Linked DNA regions of Homo sapiens: region 1 is linked to region 2. Evidence: promoter capture Hi-C in human tissues and cell types (Jung and others, 2019). All regions are on one chromosome and are shown on one strand. Each heading gives the region's core, a stretch centred on a gene start or on the middle of the fragment in contact. The rest is flanking DNA. Distances are from core to core; before and after follow the strand shown.

Region 1 (3,598 bases), core at 663-3,162, 720 kb before region 2:
GGAGGTTTTCCTTTTCTCCCAGCTCATCTGTGGTCTTCTCTATTTCTATAAGAACAGGTATTGTGTAAAACAAAAACATTTGCATTTACTACGGTCCCTCCCTGCTTTCTACCGAGTCTGTGTTACTGGGCACAGAGATGGTCCTGGAAGAACAGAGATCTTAAGAAGGAACGGGCCTGTTCCAGGAGCTGGGAATTTGATTGCCTTTTTGTCCCACGGTGATCCCTCCAGGTCCCCAGGTTGGGTTGAGAGCTCTGTCACAACAACCTTTGGGTTGTGGTCCATGCCCATGTCACGCAGTAGAGGGTTCCTCTGTAAAGTAGAAATAATCGCCTCCACTCTCCCTGTTGGAAATTGAATGGCTTTATGCACGTAAAGCACCCAGCCCGAGGCCTGGTACACACTGAGTGCGCAGTAAAAGCCCAGCCATGGGCACCCTACCTTGTGCTCTTCTCTCAGCTGTCCTTGTGCTTCTCTGCTTCCATTCCTGATTCCTCCTCGCTCCGTCTTTTCTCACCTTCCGTCTCTAGTCCTTACTCCCATAATTCCTTCTTTCTTTTGCTGTCTCAGCAAGACAGGAGCAATCCTTGTTATCAAGACCAAGTTTTTTCCCAATGGTGTTATCTCATCGAAGCCTCCTAACCTTGCCGTCAAATCAGTGGTGTCATGCCCATTTTACAGAAAAGGAAACTGAGGCCCTGCATGATGCACTGTGCATTGGGATTGGTTTTGGATGGCTGTCTCAAGTCTCCAACGATCCTGTAAGCACTAAGGGTAAAGACTGCGTCTCCTTCACCCTCTGTATCCCACACCCCCTACCATGCACCCATCTTGTGAAGCCAAAAGAGGTGGGGCCTGGGTGAGCAGGAAGGATCTAGTATGACAGTGGCGGTGAGAGGATTATGCCACGGTGTAGAAAGAGTAGTTAGATTTAGAACTCTTAGCTCCTGTTCGGGCGGCCTCAAGCCAGTAGCTAAGTTCTCTAAGCCCAGTTTCCTCATCTGTAAACCAGAGATAATAACAGTCCCCACACTCCATGGGCCTCTGTGATGATTAAACGAGAAACATACATAAAACTCCTAACAGGAGAACCGGGTGGGCCATGTATGTGCAGGCAGGTCAGCCGGGTGGCGCAGTGCTCTGGACTGGAGGCAGGGTGTCGTCTTCAGCTTCCTCACCTGGGGCAATGACTCTGCCCCAGCCTTACCAGCCTGGTGTTCTGGGTGCTAATGGAGTGGGGGTGGCACTCAACTGAGGGTTGGGGGCTTCACAGCAAATTCATTTCCACCCACCCAGACCATCCCCTGCCCTCTTTCTTAACAGGACTCATGAAAACCGGGTCACATTTTCCCTTTGCTCTTGATGAACCAATAACCTTGAACATCTGAAAATAAAACGTCTATGGCCCCCACAGCCTACTGAGGTTGTGTGGCTCTGCAGACATTATAAAACATCAAATTAGATGGAAAATTGCCCGGGGTCCCTGTAAATGAAAATTACTCTTTTTTATAGGGGGAAAAAATGACCCTTATAATCGCAACAAACAATTCTGGGCTCTTCCTTTTATTAGCCGGCTCACATGGCAAGCAGTATTTTCTCATTCCACCGCTTTGGCCCCAACCCATGTTTTTACCACATTTTACTTTGCACATTTTCACAGCATTGTAACATGAAAATGAGGTTCTGCCCTTGTCTTGAGTTCCTGTTGGAAGGGGATGTTTTGCCTCCGCAAAGTTTTAGCCTCCTGGTGAGTGCTGGCTGGATCCAGGCTTGGTGTAGGGTGGTGAAAGAGCACTGGATAGGGGGTTAGATGACTAAGCCTGCTGTGTGACTTCCAGCTGGTTGCTTAACCTCTCTGGGCTGCACTTTCTTCCTCCATGATAGGAGAGGGCTGGATTGGGTTAGGGATGGCACAGTCAATGCCTCTAGGTGCCAGCAAGGTGATGTCCATGTGTGATGGCCCTGTGTAAAACACCCTCGACCTCCATGGGGTCAAGCCAGGGCTTGTGGCCTCCCATTCTTGTCCACATCCCGACATAAAAACTTAGGCATTTTTTTTCTTTTTTCCTGTAGAACCTCACAAGAATATTTTGGAAACAAGACAAAGAGGGAGGATGCTGTTGGCTGTAGCTCAGAGCTTCTCAACACAGGGCTGATTTGGGCCCTGATTTGGCCATGTCTGGGGCGTTTTTGGCTGTCATGACTGGGCCATCATCTGGTGATGCTGCTGACATCCTGTGGGTGGAGGCCGGGTCTGTGGCTAAACACCCCACAGTGCAAAGCCCCACCACCGACAAAGGACTAGGTGGCCCCAGACGCCCCCAGTGCCCAAGGCTGAGAGCCCTGCAGCAGGGCGGGGTTGGGTTGGATTTGGGAGTGGAGACTGGCTGGCCTGGGTGGGTCCCTGCCACTGGCTTGACACCCTGTGATGCAAAGCAGTGCCCGTGGAGCCTTGGATCGCTGGCTGTCAGCCACATGAGTCAGCAGGGCCCGAGCACAGCCTCCATGCTCTCTGGCTGTGATGGGCCTACAGACTGACCTTTGTCAAGGGCTGGAGAACCTCGGACGGCTGCCACCAAGCCCCAGGCAGAGCCTAAAGATTTGTCAGGGTTGGGGGTGGGGGACCAAAGATGCTGGTTAAGTGTTGAGGAGTGAGGAAGCCACAGTGACTAAGCCGCGCCTGGGCGCCGCGGGCTGATCCTAATGAAGCCTAGCCAGTCTCTCCTCCACAGTTTTGACACAGTTAGAAAAACTTTCTCTTGTTTAACTGGAAACAGCCACCCACACTCACCCTTTCACATACCAGTTGCCTTCTTGCAGATCATAGGAAATAAACTGACCTTTTAAAAAATCACAAGTGAAATATAAGGAAACAGAGTGAGCGGAGGCGTTTAGGGGTCTTGAATTCGGCCCACTGGGCAGGAGTGAGCAGGAGTGAGATATGTGAGGCTGTGTGAGTCCATCCTGCCTCCACTCTCTGTGCTCCCGTCTGTGGAGTGGGGCAGTGGACACGGGCTCCTCAAGCCTGCTGGCTCTCTCGGTTTAGGTGTCTCCTGACGGGAGTGGGAATCCGGGCAGGGGCGGGTGGCTGCTTCTCAGGGCCTTCTCACGGCTCCCTTCTCGGGACATTTCATTCACAGATTTGTGAATCTGCAGTTTTGGGAGGATGACTAAAGGTCACTTTGTCCAACCTCAAATGCAGATATGCCCTCTACTTTCTTCCCAAGAGGTAACATTGTCTCTCCTTGGTGGCTCCTGGGATGAGGGGCTTACTCCTATGCCCAGGCCAGCCAATTTCATTCCTGGACACCCCTGGACAGCTCTCGCTTCCGTGCGTGCTGTTTTTTTTTTCCTTTTTTCTTTTTTTTTTTTTTTTGAGACAGACTCCAGCCTCGCTCTGTCGCCCAGGCTGGAGTGCAGTGGTGCCATCACCACTCACTGCAACCTCGTCCTGCAGACTCAAGCGATCCTCCCACCTCAGCTGGGATTACAGGCATGTGTTACCACACCTGACTAATTTTTGTATTTTTAGTAGAGACAGAGTTTTGCCATGCTGCCCAAGCTGGTCTTGAACTCCTGGACGCAAGAGATCCTCCTG
Region 2 (3,439 bases), core at 618-3,117:
AGAGCTCTTTCCTGTACAGTGTGCAGAAGGGCTATGCAAGACAGGCCCAGAGAGACGGAAGAAGGCTGGTCCCATCAACAGCTGGGATGGGCGTGGGCAGGGCCAGGGCCCAGGGGACGTGCTCAAGATGCCAAGGGCACCTGAATACAGGTGCTCATTCCCAGATTCCTGCAAAGGCAGGGGTTGCCCTTGAGGGTGAGGTACTCTACACCCACCATGGTCCTAGATGGCTTCAGGCCCTTCCCAGTAGGCACCGTCCCTCCCTTCTGGCAGGGACCACCCTCAACACCACTGTGGCTGACAGAGGCCAATGTGCACCAGGATTTCTGACACTGGCTTCCCAGAAGGAAGAGCTTGTGCAAAGCAGGTGAGGCCAGGCACGCAGGCTCTGAACTCGGGGGCCAGAGAGAGAGTACAGGACAGGCCTGGGGACGCGGCTCCCTGAGCCTTGGTTTTGTCACCTGCAAAACGGGCCAGATACTCCCATCTCACAGGGCAGATGCAAGTGAAAGGACCCAGGGAACATGTTCTGTCATTGGACTTTTGAAAGCTCAGGACACTGACATGGCGTTTTTCCAGTGAAAACCTAAAGACAGAAAGGGAGCAGGGTCTCTTTTAAGAGACTAAACCTCTGCCAGTGTCGCAAGTGTCCTGGGGTAGAGAACACAGCAGGACACGACCCACCACCCTAGGAGAGAGGTGGGAGGACCTCAGGGCAGCATCAATGGGCCAGACCATTGGCCAGGGCAGTCCTGGGAATAGGAGCCTGGGTGTGCTGTCAGGGGCAATAAGGTGGAGAGAAGAGTGCCAGCATGGGACAGGAGTGGCAGAATGTCTACCAGGACAGACCACCCCAGAGGTCTGGGGGAAAATGGATGGGAGACGTGGGAAAACCATCACCAAGGGCTGGAAGTGAAGTGGTGGGACCTGAAGCCAGGGAGTGGCAGTGGGGAGTGAGGAGGGGCAGACATCCGAGCTGATTTGGAGGAAAAGGCACTAGGACTGGTGACCAGCTTTGTCGGGGGAGGTCAAGTCTAGGGCTACAGCCAGGGATCCATGCCTTTCGAGTTTAGGACCACAGAGGGAGGGCCAGGGTGAAGTAGGAAGTGGCTAAATCCATCAGCCAGGAGAGTTCAGTCACCTAAGAGTCCAGCCAAGAGCCCCCACTTTTAAAAACCGCTGCAATTTCCCAGTGCTGGCCTCTGCAAGGGGCTCTGCATATGTGAGCTCATCTAACCCACTTCCACCCTCTGGGGTGGACGCCGCGACGGCCCCGTTTCAACGATCAGGAAACTGGGGCACAGGAGTGAACTGCCCTAGGTCGAAGCTCGTAAAATGGAGAGCAGGATTCGAACCAGGGTCGCTGGTGAAGTCCAAGCCGGCAGCTGCCACACCCCGAGGAAGGTCTCCAGTTTCCCTCGAAGCTTTCTGGCCGTGAGCGGGATACACCTAAGGGCCGCGAAGCACCCTATTCAGATCCTGCCCTCCCTTCCTCATTCTTTGCGAAATACTAAGGGTCCTCCCTGCCACCGCCGGTGTAGACAAAGTCAAACCACTACAGTCAGACCGGAGCCTGGGGTCGGGCCCTCCTTACCTGCGTGCTGCTCTCGGGCCCCGCCCCGCTCCGCCCCGGAGGGATCCTCAGGCCGGGCCCAGACCTAGGAGCCACCTGGGGATCCCGGGGTGGCTGCGCGCCGAGGGGGCGCCAGCGGGGACGTGAGCTGGCGCCGAGACAGCCTCGGCCCCCCAGCGCCAGGGCCACTGCCAGGAGACCCCCGGCCAGCACCCACGTGGGGCGCCCCCGGGAGCCCGAGGGGTCCATCGCCTGTCGGGACCCGCTACCTCAAAGCGGCGGGTGCCGCCGAGTCGCTGGAGCTTCCGGACCCCAGGCCCGCCCCGCCGCCGAGCATGCTCAGTGCGAGCCGCCGCCGAAAGTTTTCTGGAACAAACACCCGCATCTGGGGCTTGGCGGGCCAGGAGGTGCCGGACGGGCGTGGGAGGGGGAGAGCGAGTTGGCGCGGCCCAGGCGCCCGGCGGCCAGGCCTGGGTTTGCTTGCGCCCAAACCGAATCAGAGCGGGTCACTCCCCTGCTCCCCGAGGTTACCAGGACCCCAAGGGCCCCTCCGCTACCGCCTACCTGGGTCTGTAAGCCTCAGCTCAGACGCACTTCCCCTGGGAACGGTTTCCTGACACACGGATGTGAATCCAGAGTTTCCCCATCCCCGCTTAGAAAACGGAGAAGCATTTGGAGCGCGGGGCCGGGAGTCCTGGAGCACCCAGAAGGTTCAGGAAAGCTCGGGGAGGAGGGGGTGGCCGCAGAGAAGGAAAAGGACCCTCACTTCCGGTTGCGTTCAGTGCAGACCAGCTGAGCACCCACTGCCCGAGCCTGCTGTGGGTCAGCCCTGGGCCGGCCCGGGTGCCCCTCGCATTCCCAGTGGGAAACAGGCCAGCCGCTGGGCCACCTCTCTGGGGACCTAGAAAGAGGGGAGCTGGTGTCTGAAGTCGCAGCCCTAAGCAAGCTCTCCCTGAACTCTCCGAGGGGACAGGGATTTGCTTTGCCAAGGGACGCAGGAGGAGGAGGAGGAGAAAGACACAAAAAGGGGGACTGGTGGAGCCTTTTGTGTGCTTCCTCATCCCTGCCTAGGTCCTGGGTGACAGCTGACACCTGTTGACGGGGGAGGGCTCCACTCCCGCCAGCCTTCCTGCGGGGCAGGCTGTTAGGCTGTCTATAAAGTCTCAGGCCAGCGAGCCTGGCCCCTGGCAGCCTCTCTCCCCATAACCCAGACCATCCAAGGACAGGCCTTTCCTGACCTAACATGGACAAGGCCATGGGGTTCGAGAAGCTGAGAATTTATAAGCCAAGTTCCCCACACCAGGGGGTACGTGGCAGCTGTCAGGCATGTGACAAGACCACAGGCTAAATGCCAAGCATGTTGCTGGACCGTTGGAGTTGTTTGACAGTCAGTCATTTAAAGGTTAATTTAATAGTCAACAACTTTATGATAAAGTAAAAAGCAAATAACCCTACATTTAAAAAATCTCCTTAGTATTTTTTATGGAGTCAGGGTCTCACTATGTTGCCAAGACTGGTCTTAAACTCCTGGGCTCAGACAATCCTCCACTTGAGCCTCCCAAAGTGCTGGGATTACAGGCGTGAGCAACCACACCTGGCCCAAACACCACATTTTAAAAACTAAAGCCTAAGCATTCATGGAAATGTAAAACAAGAGCGTCAAGTTATTGCCCCCATACATGTCCCCAGGAACCTTGGAGATGCTTCTAAGGTAATATATAAGAAGCTCCACATAGCAGAGAGTTTGCCCTGAAGCCAGACACAGGTGTAAATGAGACAAGAATTCTGCCCCACTCCTTAATTGCAAATGAGTCACCTCTCCTCTCCAGCTGTCAGTTTCTTCATTTATTAAAAAAAGATGAAGAA

Evidence for each region. The method cuts DNA at HindIII sites, captures the fragments that hold promoters and counts their contacts. A contact is called where the count stands out against the background at its distance.
Region 1: a contact is called between a fragment that was not itself captured here and the fragment with the promoter of EVC2 in region 2, in 1 of the 25 tissues and cell types used here (dorsolateral prefrontal cortex).

What each region holds. Positions count from the first base shown.
Region 1 is chr4:4,988,744-4,992,341 of GRCh38, forward strand. No RefSeq gene overlaps it. Among named protein-coding and RNA genes, the nearest start is that of CYTL1, 29 kb to the right of the region's middle. The HindIII fragment of the contact is 6,109 bases long and covers 1-3,598 here.
Region 2 is chr4:5,706,692-5,710,130 of GRCh38, forward strand. It overlaps EVC2 (EvC ciliary complex subunit 2), which reads right to left and starts at 1,868. Exons shown (of 22, transcript NM_147127.5): 1 at 1,595-1,868. The coding sequence starts at 1,822. RefSeq lists silencers at 1,488-1,867, 1,908-1,957 and an enhancer at 1,808-2,427. The HindIII fragment of the contact is 11,868 bases long and covers 1-3,439 here.